Linked DNA regions of Homo sapiens: region 1 is linked to region 2. The links are contacts of gene promoters, found by promoter capture Hi-C in blood cells and fetal thymus (Javierre and others, 2016). All regions are on one chromosome and are shown on one strand. Each heading gives the region's core, a stretch centred on a gene start or on the middle of the fragment in contact. The rest is flanking DNA. Distances are from core to core; before and after follow the strand shown.

Evidence for each region. The method cuts DNA at HindIII sites, captures the fragments that hold promoters and counts their contacts. A CHiCAGO score of 5 or more calls a contact.
Region 1: a fragment that was not itself captured here is called in contact with the fragment with the promoter of MCM7 in region 2 in 4 of 17 cell types (total B cells, naive B cells, naive CD8 T cells and 1 more); the score reaches 7.1 in total B cells.

Annotation. Positions count from the first base shown.
Region 1 is chr7:100,438,166-100,443,788 of GRCh38, forward strand. It overlaps PPP1R35-AS1 (PPP1R35 antisense RNA 1), which reads left to right. Exons shown (of 3, transcript NR_187540.1): 2 at 216-337; 3 at 1,569-1,712. Among named protein-coding and RNA genes, the nearest start is that of PPP1R35-AS1, 4.3 kb to the left of the region's middle. The HindIII fragment of the contact is 6,057 bases long and covers 122-5,623 here.
Region 2 is chr7:100,099,907-100,105,887 of GRCh38, forward strand. It overlaps MCM7 (minichromosome maintenance complex component 7), which reads right to left and starts at 1,491. Exons shown (of 15, transcript NM_005916.5): 1 at 1,358-1,491; 2 at 108-187. The coding sequence starts at 1,388. It overlaps AP4M1 (adaptor related protein complex 4 subunit mu 1), which reads left to right and starts at 1,737. Exons shown (of 15, transcript NM_004722.4): 1 at 1,737-1,866; 2 at 1,974-2,062; 3 at 2,769-2,875; 4 at 2,958-3,054; 5 at 3,503-3,613; 6 at 3,706-3,786; 7 at 4,186-4,248; 8 at 4,968-5,034; 9 at 5,139-5,192; 10 at 5,334-5,440; 11 at 5,539-5,633. The coding sequence starts at 1,809. RefSeq lists enhancers at 686-845, 1,191-1,743, 1,766-1,815 and a silencer at 956-1,055. The HindIII fragment of the contact is 6,263 bases long and covers 1-5,897 here.

The sequences.
Region 1 (5,623 bases), core at 1,900-4,399, 340 kb after region 2:
AGTCTCCTTTCATTTTTTGTGTAGAATGTAAGTGGAAGTGGGTTCAGGAATCCTTTCTTACTCTTTTTTTTTTTTTTTTTTTAATTCTCCAAACTGCTTCAAAAAGGTTCAGGAATCTTGAAGCTTTCCTGGAATTGATTGATGCTCAGTCAACAGGCACGTTTGTGTACCACTTTTCATTATGAGTTTCCACATTGTTCATTTTATCTTTCCAGGAAGTGCTGTGGAACATCAGATAGAATGGATAGCACAGCCCAAATTTTACAAAAAGGATTTTAAAGGAAGATCTCAATGGTGGAACACTAGAGGCTTTCCTGCTAAAGTTAAGAACAAGCAAGTATGTCTATTATCTCATTGTTCAATTGTGAAAAGAAATAGCGAGGTACAAATATAAATTTTTAAACTGGGAGTATAAATTAAAAATTTTTAATAGCGACATAGGAGGGAGAGAATAGAATGAAAGACAAACAGTCTTATTCCTCCAAATATACTTTGTTTTGTATATTTGACTTTGGAAATGTATGCATTTTATATGATTATATTAAAAGGTTTTAAAAAATCAGGCCAGGCACAGTGGCTTACACCTGTAATCCCAGCACTTTGGGAAGCCCGGGTGGGTGGATCACTTGAGGTCAGGAGTTCGAGACCAGCCTGGCCAGCATGGTGAAACCCCGTTTCTACTAAAAATATAAAAATTAGCCAGGCGTGGTGGTGCACACCTGTAATCCCAGCTACTTGGGAAGCTGAGGCACAAGAATCGCTTGAACCCAGGAGGCGTATGTTGCAGTGAGCTGAGATCGTGCAACTGGACTCCAGCCTGTGTAACAGAGCAAGACTCTGCCTCAAAAAGTAATAGTAAAATAAAATACAAATACAAAAAAATTAGCCGGGTGTGGTGACAGGTGCCTGTAGTCCCAACTACTTGGGAGACTGAGTAGGCCAGTCACTGGAACTCAGGAGGTGGAGGTTGCAGTGAGCCAAGATTGTGCCACTGCACTCCAGCCTGGGTGACAGAGCTAGACTCTCTGTCTCAAAAAACAAAAAACAAACAAACAAAAAAAACTAATAAATCATGCTGTATTTTACCTTAAATTGAAAAGTATCAAGACTGAGCACAGTGGCTCAAGCCTGTAATCCCAGCACTTTAGGAAGCCGAGGCAGGCAAGTTGCCTGAGCTCAGGAGTTCAAGACCAGCCTGGGCAACATGGCAAAACCTCGTCTCTACTAAAAAGTACAAAAAATTAGCCAGGCATGGTAGCACGTGCCTGTAGTCCCATAGTCCCAGCTACTCAGGAGGCTGAGGCATGAGAATCACTTGAACCCAGGAGGCGGCGGTTGCAGTGAGCCAGGATCTCGCCACTGCACTCCAGCCTGGATGACAGAGTGAGACCCTGTCACAAGAAAAAAAAAAGTTGGGGTTCGGAACAGTATTTGAGGGTACATGGATAAAACAAGATTAGCCAAATGTTGATGACTGCTGAAGCAGGATTTTATTACTATATTTTCTCTACTTTTGCATATTCTTGAACATTTCTGTGACTAAACGTTTTTTGTTTATTTAAAAAAAGAGGCTGACGCAGTTTTGGCATGCAGGAAGTGTTGGAGCTGAGACTCGAAACTGTCCCCCAGGCCTTGGCCATGCTGATAAATATCTAGGCCCTACAGGAGTTCGTGTCCATGAACCCAGTAAACGCAATTCCTCAGCCTTAAAATCTAGTCACTGACTCATTTCAGGCCCCAGCACAGACGAAAACAAGCCATTCTGTTTGCCCAGTTTACATTGCGGGTCTCCAAGAAGTGGAATGTTCACCAATGATTTTAAGAAAACAGGGCCTGGCGCGGTGGCTCACGCCTGTAATCCCAGCACTTTGGGAGGCCGAGGCAGGCAGATCACCTGAGGTTGGGAGTTTGAGATCAGCCTGACCAACATGGAGAAACCCCATTTCTACTAAAAATACAAAATTAGCCGGGTGTGGTGGTGCATGCTTGTAATCCCAGCTACTCAGGAGGCTGAGGCAGAATTGCCTGAAGCTGGGAGGCGGAGGTTGCAGTGAGCCAGAGATCGTGCCATTACATTCCAGCCTGGGCAACAAGAGCAAAACTCTGTCTCAAAATAATAATAATAATAATAATAATTAAAAAAAAAAAAACAGTACGAGTGTGAAGATCGGAAGGTGGAGGTGAGGGAGGTGAGAGGTCTTGGGCCTGCCCACATTCTTCCTAAGCTATTTTGGCTGGCCCAGGCTGGGAGGCCAGGAATTGCTTTTCCTCTTCAAAAGAAAAGGGGACAAAAAATTAGCTGGGCGTGGTAGCACTCATCTGTAGTCCCAGCTACTCAGGAGGCTGAGGCAGAAGAATTGCTTGAACCGGGGAGGCAGAGGTTGCAGTAAGCTGAGATTGTGCTGCTGCCCTCCAGCCTGGGTGACAGAGCGAGACTCGGTCTCAAAAAAAAAAAAAAAAAAAATGGGGAGGAGGACAGGGCATGGTGGTTCATGCCTATAATTCCAGCATTTTGGGAGGCCAAGGCAGGCAGATCACTTGAGGCCAGGAGTTCGAGACCAACCTGGGCAACACAGTGAAACCCTTTCTCTACTAAAACTACAAAAAATTACCTGGGCATGGCAGCACATGCCTGTAATTTCAGCTACTCGGGAGGCTGAGGCATGAGAATCACTTGAACCTGAGAGGGGGAGGTTGCAGTGAGCCAAGATGGCACCACTGCACTCCAGCCTGGGCAACAGCGTGAGACTCTGTCTCAAAAAAAAAAAAAAAAAAAAAAAATGGCTGGGACACCGTGACTCATGCCTGTAATTCCAGCACTTTGGGAGGCAGAGGCAGGAGGATCCCTGTGAGGCCAGGAGTTCAAGACCAGCCTGGGCAACATAGTGAGACCCAGTCTCTATAAAAAAATTAAAAATTAGCCAGGCGTGGTGGTGTATTCCTGTAGTCCCAGGTACCGGGGAGGTTGAGGTGGGAGGATCCCTTGAGCCCAGGACTTCGAGGCTGCAGTGAGCTATGATCACGCCACTGCACTCCAGCCTTGGCGACAGAGCAACACCCATCTCTTAAATATTATTTATTATAAGGCTTTTGGGCTGGGTGCTGTGGCTCACGCCTGTAATCCCAGCACTTTGGGAGGCCGAGGCGGGCGGATCACGAGGTCAGGAGATTAACACCATCCTGGCTAACACGGTGAAACCCTGTCTCTACTAAAAATACAAAAAATTAGCCGGGTGTGGTGGCATGCGCCTCTAGTCCCAGCTACTCAGTAGGCTGAGGCAGGAGTATGGCGTGAACCTGGGAGTCGGAGCTTGCAGTGAGCCGAGATCGCACCACTGCACTCCAGCCTGGGCAACAGAGCGAGACTCCGTCTCAAAAAAAAAAAAAAAAAGACTTTTGATTGGGTTAGACCTCACCAGTTAGAGATGCTCCTTTAGTTATCTGAGGCTGCTGAGTGGGGTAATCCTAGACCTGGATGCTAGTTTGAAGAAAGCAAGTCTCAGTGCTGGAAGGGGTCATTCAAGGTCATCCATGAGCTTCTGCTGAGCCAGGTGCTATAGGTGGGCTAGGTGGGACAGGAGACAGGTCAGCATCCAGGGTCCTTGAAGGGACCATGTCCTTAAGAAGAGGTAGGATGCCTCCAATGCAGTGGTCCACTGCACGGTGTGGCTGAGACTGCTACAGAGGACACATGGGAAGACCTGCCAGGGTTGGGGGTGGGGGAGGAGCAAGGGCGTCATCCTGGAAGTCACCCCCAAATAGGGCCAAGAAAGATCAGAGAGACAGCAAAGCTCTAATACCACCCTCTGCAAACCCCACCTATGGCGACCTCTCACCTCCTGTCTCCTATTCTCAAACTGGCCTATGCCTAAGGGCCAACCCAGAGACACTTCCACACTGGTCCCTGTCACACGAGACACGCTGGAAGATGGGAATGGCCAACCTCCAGACACACACACATCCAGGCTCCTATCCCCAGAGTGCGTGTTCTCATCCTACTGCATCTCGGAGGCTGGCAGGGTGAATCCCCCAGCAGGTCAGGTAGGTCTGAGGTGTCTCAGCCTGAACTCATGACTCCAAACCACCTTCACGCCTTCGTCCCAACCCAGAAGGAAGAGATCCAGGGAGGAGGGCACACATCGGGCTGCAGGCCAACACACTGACCCTGAGCCTGGCCTCCCCAGCATCAGGCTGAGGAACAGGAGGGTTGAGATGAGCCCCATTAGGTATGTGTGAAGTCTCTGGGACATGGGATGATGCCAGCTGCTGGGATGCAGAAAAGTTGGAGGCAGGGGACAGAGTCTCATTCAAAAGAATTTGTCCATAATCCAAGCTGGGTGTTGTGGCTCACGCCTATAATCCCAGCACTTTGGGAGGCCCAAGCAGATGGATCACTTGAGGTCAGGAGTTCAAGACCAGCCTGGCCAACATGCTGAAACCCCGTCTCTACTAAAAATATAAAAATTACCCGTATGTGGTAGCCCAGGCCTGTAATCCCAGTTACTTGGGAGGCTGAGGTGGGAGGATTGCTTGAACCCAGGAGGTGGAGGTTGCAGTGAGCCCAGATCATGCCACTGCACACCAGCCTGGGCAACAAAGCGAGCAAAGCGAGACTCCATTTCAAAAAAAAAAAAAAAAAATTTTAGCTGCGTGTGCTGGCACATGCCTGCAAATCCCAGCTACTCCGGAGGCTGAGGCATGAGAATCACTTGAACCTGGGAGGCAGAGGTTACAGTGAGCCGCCAGCAACTGTATCTCAAATAAATAAATAAATAAATAAGAATTTGTCTGGAATCTGGGTGAGGCAGAGGAAAATGAAAGAAACCAGAAAAGCAAAGATAAACAGATTTGCAGGGTGGGGTGGAGGATGGAGAATTCAATGGAGCTGAGCACAGCAAGGAGGAGAATGTTGGGCTGAAGGCCTGAGCTTGCTGGGGAGATGTCCTTGATGTCCACACTGGGCATAGAAGGTTGATTGATGCCAGTGGTTAGGGTCCCAAAGAGCCCAGGGACAGCTGGAGGTAGAAAGAAAGGGTGTGGAGGCACGGAAGATGGGCCCATAACCCAGGAAAAGGGAGCCACAGATAGGGGAAATGTATGCAGAAATCGCCACCCTCACTCTGGGAGGCAGGTCCCGACAGATCCCCTTAGCAGGGGACCAATGCCCAGGACCTTGGGGAGATGGTTGGGGACGGGGGAAGCAGCAGATGGTCTGTTACTCAATGAGCACACAGGAGATGTTGGGGGGTCTTGGGGTGGAGAGTGATTCCATGGAAGCCTCTGGATTGGACAAGGAGATGTTGGTGTGAGGTTTTTCCACAGTCCAAGAGAGGCGATTGGACAAGGAGATGTTGGTGTGAGGTTTTTCCACAGTCCAAGAGAGGCTGGTAGAAGAAAAGCAGGTTCTGCTATCAGGCCGGGTGCAGTGGCTCACACCTGTAATCTCAGCCCTTTGGGAGGCCCAGGTGGGAGCATCACATGAGGACAGGCATTCGAGAGCAGCCTGGGCAAGATGGTGAAACCCTGTCTCTACAATAAAAACACAAAAAAATTAGCCGGGTGTGGTGGTGTGCACCTGTAGTCCCAGCTACTCAGGAGGCTGAGACCGGAGGATCACTTGAGC
Region 2 (5,981 bases), core at 241-2,740:
CCCTCAAACCCTCTAATTGTTATGTCTTTAATAAAACAAGCCAAGCTGCTGCTTATGGCTCCTTAAGCACCCCGCTCCCCATTCCCTTTACCCAATCTTAGACTTACCAACTGGTTCCCATACTTGAACTGCTTCTTCCCGAGTTCATCATCCTGGTAGAACTCTTGTAAGAACTTCTTAACCTTTTCTGTAACATGAAATGTAAAACCGTAAGACACAAACTTTAAGACAAATCTTAGATACCCATTTTCGCTTAAAACACGACCTATGAACTAATTAATAATATGAGCATTTAAATAAACCTACCGAAGTCTCCCCAAAGTGGGCATAACTCTTTTTCACAAGTCTGTTTCTAACCAGCGAAGAATAAAGAGCCCGTGGCAGTGCACAGGGCCATCCAACATCTCCCCAGGGGAATTCCGGTCCCTACTTTAGTTTAAAATTCTAGCGCCCTTCCCCGTTGGCCCCTCACACTCCGGTCTCAAGGTTCTCAGCTTTCTTTCCACCCCTATGATCCCCCGCCTTCTTTGGGTCCCCTTAGCCCCTGATTTCACCGGGACCTCCGCCACCGCACCCCGCCACCGCACCCCACCCCCGCTCCCGCCATCGCTTCCGCTCTTAGTAAACAAAGAAGCACATGGGCCCGGATTCCAGCCGCTTCACAGCTCGGGATTCCTCCGCCCAGGGCGGGAGCCAGTCCAGCCATTGGCCATCACACCCAGAGACACCGCGATCCCAGCCCACTGCCGCCTTTCCCGGGCCCGAGCGAAGCTCCGGATCCCAGGCACGCCCCCCCGGGCCGCAGCTCTCTCCGCGGCCGCCGCGCGGAAGGACACTGTTTACACGACACTCCCTCCAGCCTCCTCGCGCCACTTCCGCCCGGCTCCACTTCCGCTCGGAGGGCGGCCTCAAACGGCCAATCCCGGCGCGCAGCGGCCCCGGCCTGCCCGCCCCCGGGGCCTACGCGCGCCTGGGGAGGGCGCGGGAACCTGGGAATGCCCAAAAGCGCGAAGGAAAGCGGGCACGGGAGCCCAGAGCCCTTAAGACTCTCCTGAGGTCCTGGGCGCGACTTTTCCCTGTGCAGCCCCCAGCCGGGTTAGCGCGCCCCCAAGCCCCCAACCCCACGACCCTAACACCTTTACCAGGTGGGATTACTAGCTTTTCTTCAACATCGATGGCCCCCCGCACGCTTCCCAGGCCCCGTGGGCCTTAGCCAGGCCGCAGCTCGACCCTGCCTCTGGCCTCGCGCACCCCAGAACCCGCCGACCCCGGTCCCCCAAGACCCCAGCTCACACCAACAGGTGTTCCCCGGGAGGCTCCCCGCGCAGGACGCCCTCCCGGGCTCGTAGACCCGTACCCTTCTCTAGCGCGTAGTCCTTCAGTGCCATCGCTGCCGAGGGCCGTGCGGCCGCGCTTGGCGGGCTCAGAGGTCTTGCTCCTGGGGAAGCTGAGAATCTCCGCGCGGTGGACTGTGGCCGGCCAACCGAAATTGGCGCGAAACGTCGCCCCCCACGTGACCGGCGCCACTGCGTGCGGGCCAATCGGACAAGGCGGCCTTCTTCACCTCCCGCTAGCCGCAAGCCAATCACCGTGCGGGCCTAGAATGAGTGACGGGGAGGCGGTGCGGGCGTCGGAAGGGAATCTCCGGGCGGGGTAGTGCAGGCGCCGGGTTTCCCGCGGTCCGAGCTGGCGCGGGCGGAGGAGAATCGCTCTTAAAGGGCCAGCGCACACGCGTTCTTTTGTTCCGGGGCCGCAGGGCGGGGCAGGCCCGACTTTCGCCGTCTTCTTGTCTACTCTCCAGAACGGCCATGATTTCCCAATTCTTCATTCTGTCCTCCAAGGGGGACCCGCTCATCTACAAAGACTGTATCCTAGACCCTTGGGGCTGGGAAGGGGCGGAGGGGCCGGGCGGGAGGGGCGCCCAGGGCCAGCCTGTGTCGCAGGATCCTTCACTGAGTCCTTCCACCCGCCAGTCCGCGGGGACAGTGGCGGCCGGGATGTGGCCGAGCTCTTCTACCGGAAGCTGACGGGACTGCCAGGAGACGAGTCCCCGGTTGTCATGGTAACCAGTGGCGGGAGGCGGGTGAGGAGCGGGGTCCCGTCGGGCCGGGTGGGCGCCAGCTCCCTCCCAGGACTGGTTCATTGGTAGATTCCACTTGGGGGGTGCATTCCGCCAAATAAAGCTAACGTGAGGCCCGGCGCGGTGGCTCACGCCTGTAATCCCAGCACTTTGGGAGACCGAGGCGGGCGGATCACCTGAGGTCAGGAGTTCGAAATCAGCCTGGCCAACATGGTGAAACTCCGCCTCTACTAAAAATACAAAAAAAAAAAAAACATAGCTGGGCGTGGTGGCGGGCGCCTGTAATCCCATCTACTCGGGAAGCTGAGGCTTGAGAATCGCTTGAATCCAAGAGGCAGAGGTTGCAGTGAGCCGAGATCCGGACACCGCACTCCAGCCTGGGAGACAGAGCGAGACTCCCTCTCGGGGTAGGTGGGGGTGGGGAAAAAAAAAAAAAGAGTCAATGGGCGCCAGCAACACACCAGGCCCAGCTCCCTGCGTGACTCCATCCTCAGCAACTCGGGGTAGTTAGTGTAATTAACCCCCTTTCCACATTGGGAAGCTGGGCCCAGGCATATGTCATGTATCTCCCAAAGGCACTGCTGTTGTGACTAGTAAGAGGCATCGGGATCCGAGCTCAGGTCTCCTGGGTTCTGATCACTCCACCTCCCTTTTTTTAACGCCTCTCTTCTCCCTGCCTGTGTCTCAGCATCACCATGGCCGTCATTTCATTCACATCAGACACAGCGGCCTCTATTTGGTGGTCACAACTTCAGAAAACGTTTCTCCCTTCAGCCTCCTAGAACTGCTCTCCAGGTGAGGAGGGTTGGGCTGGGCACCTGGTAGCTAGGAGGGGTCTGAGAGGAGGAGAAAATACACGCTCCAAGTGTTTCCTCAGGTTGGCCACCCTTCTGGGCGATTACTGTGGCTCCCTGGGCGAGGGGACCATCTCCCGCAATGTGGCTCTGGTATACGAACTCCTGGATGAAGTGCTGGTGAGAATCAACAATCCCCTTCTGTGGCCCCTACCCAATTCCCCTGAAGATACATCTGCTCTTCTACTGTGGGATGCCGTGGTTAGGAGGCCAAGTCTACCTTTTTTTTTTTTTTTTTTTTTGCTTTTAGAGACAGGGTCTTGCTCTGTTGCCCAGGCTGGACTGCAGTGGTGCAGTTATAGCTCACTGCAGCCTGGAACTCCTGGGCTCAAGCCGTCCTCCTGCCCCAGCCTCCCCTGTGCCTAGCTAATTGTTTATTTTTTGTAGAGACTAGAGTCTCACTGTGTTGCCCAGGCTGGTCTTGAACTCATGGCCTCAAGCCATTCTCCTACGTCTCGGCCTTCCAAAGCGCTGAGAGTACAGGAGTGAGTCACCATGCCTGGCCCCACTCCCCCTCTTTACCCCTTCCCTCCACTGATCACTCAGACTGTCCTTCCTTTACCACTAGGACTATGGCTATGTACAGACCACATCCACGGAGATGCTGAGGAATTTCATCCAGACGGAAGCTGTGGTCAGCAAGCCCTTCAGCCTCTTTGACCTCAGCAGCGTTGGCTTGGTCAGTAGAGGGAAAGAGGAGGGTGAGGAAAGAGAAGAGGGGTTGGCTGGGGTTGTCAGACCTGATGATTGATTGCTTTGGATGCTTTACAGTTTGGGGCTGAGACACAACAGAGCAAAGTGGCCCCCAGCAGTGCAGCCAGCCGCCCCGTCCTGTCCAGTCGCTCTGACCAGGTGAGGGAAGGATCCATGGGGTCAGACGCTCTGGTTTTGCTCTGGGATCCGGGAGTCCAAGATCTTAGGTCGGGCACAGCGGCTCACGCCTGTAGTCCCAGCACTTTGGGAGGCCGAGGTGGGCAGATCACCTGATGCCAGGAGTTTCAGAGCAGCCTGGCCAACATGGTGAAAACCTGTCTCTACTAAAAATGCAAAAAAAAAAAAAAAAAAAGAAAAAGATCTTGGCACATCTCCCACCCCCCCAGATGTGGGTGGAGGTGGGAGATGATCCCTTCCATCACCCATGTCCTCACCCTAGAGCTGTAGCTTTGACTGTCCTGTTCTTTCTCCCTGTCTGTCCATTTCAGAACATAGGCTATTCTGCTTCCAACCACCCAAATTCTCTCTCTTTCTCAGAGCCAAAAGAATGAAGTTTTTTTGGATGTGGTCGAGAGATTGTCTGTACTGATAGCATCTAATGTAAGTTTGAGCTCCCAAACCTGGAGCTGAGGACAGATGGGACTTGGGAAACATGGTGGGGTGGCTAAGACTCCCAGCAACGGCCGGGCACAGTGGCTCATGCTTGTAATCCCAGTGCTTTGGGAGGCCGAGGTGGGAGAATTACTTGGGGCCAGGAGTTTGAAACCAGCCTGGGCAACATAGCCAGACCCCGTCTCTACAAAAAATACAAATAAACAAATTACCCAGACATGGTAGTGTACACCTGCTGTCCCAGCTACTTGGGAGGCTGAGCCAGGAGGATCACTTGAGCCCAGGAGGTTAAGGCTGCAGTAAGCCAAGATCGAGTCACTGCACGCTAGCCCGGATGACAGAGCAAGACCCTGTCTCTTAAAAAAAATAAATAAGTAAAAAAGGCTGGGCACAGTGGCTCATGCCTGTAATCCCAGCACTTTGAGAGGCCGAGGTGGGTGGATCACTTAAGGTCAGGAGTTTGAGACCAGCCTGGCCAACACAGTGAAACTCCATCTCTACTAAAAATACAAAAATTAGCTACTTATGGTGGCAGGCATCTGTAACCCTAGCTACTTGTGAGGCTGAGGCAGGAGAATGTCTTGAACCTGGGAGGTGGAGGTTGCAGTGAGCCGAGATCACGCCACTGCCAGCCTGGGCGACAGAGCGAGACCGTCTCAAAAAAAGAAAGAAAAAAAGACTCTAACCTTGACGCCCCTGCCTCTCAGGGATCCCTGCTGAAGGTGGATGTGCAGGGAGAGATTCGGCTCAAGAGCTTCCTTCCTAGCGGCTCTGGTGAGGCATCTGCAGGCAGGACCAAGGGTTGGGGTTAGGGCGGGTTCCTTGGTGTCTTAAACCATGGCATTGCTGAGCTCTCCTGATGGTCTCTCCTCCGACAGAGATGCGCATTGGCTTGACGGAAGAGTTTTGTGTGGGGAAGTCAGAGCTGAGAGGTGAGGAGAAAGTGGGTCTTTCTCCCCTTGGAGTAGGTCATTGCCAGAGTTCATGGAGAGAAGTCAGACAGAGCCTCCCCTCTCCTTGCTCCTCTCCCAAAACAGGAGTCAGGAGAGAAGTCTCTCTCTCTCTCTTTCCAGGTTATGGGCCAGGAATCCGGGTCGATGAAGTCTCGTTTCACAGCTCTGTGAATCTGGACGAATTTGAGTCTCATCGAATCCTCCGCTTGCAACCACCTCAGGGCGAGGTCAGGGTTGGGGTGGCCTCATAAATTCCGTCCACCATGGGGAAGGGGGCAGTGGGGTCGTGAGACCAAACTAACCTTGTTGCTCTCTGGTCTCTCAGCTGACTGTGATGCGGTACCAACTCTCCGATGACCTCCCCTCACCGCTCCCCTTCCGGCTCTTCCCCTCTGTGCAGTGGGACCGAGGCTCAGGCCGGTGAGACAATTTCCTGGGTTCTAGAACTACCTTGGAACCCAAGCCAAGACCTGTATGTTCCCAAGACTCACTGCAGAGTGGGGGTGGTGGTAGTGGTGATGGAGTGCAAATTGGAAAAAGGCTTGGGTTGCGGCCGGTGGCTCACACCTGTAATCCTAGCACTTTGGGAGGCTGAGGCGGGAGGATCACTTGAGCCCAGGAGTTCCAGACCAGCCTGGGCAACATAGTGAGACCCCATCTCTCTGAAAAAAAAAAAAAGGAAAAAGCTTTGGCTAATGGAGTTGGGCTGGGCTTCAGCCCTTTTCCCTCTTGGGAGTACAGCCCACACCCACACAGCCCCACATGGAG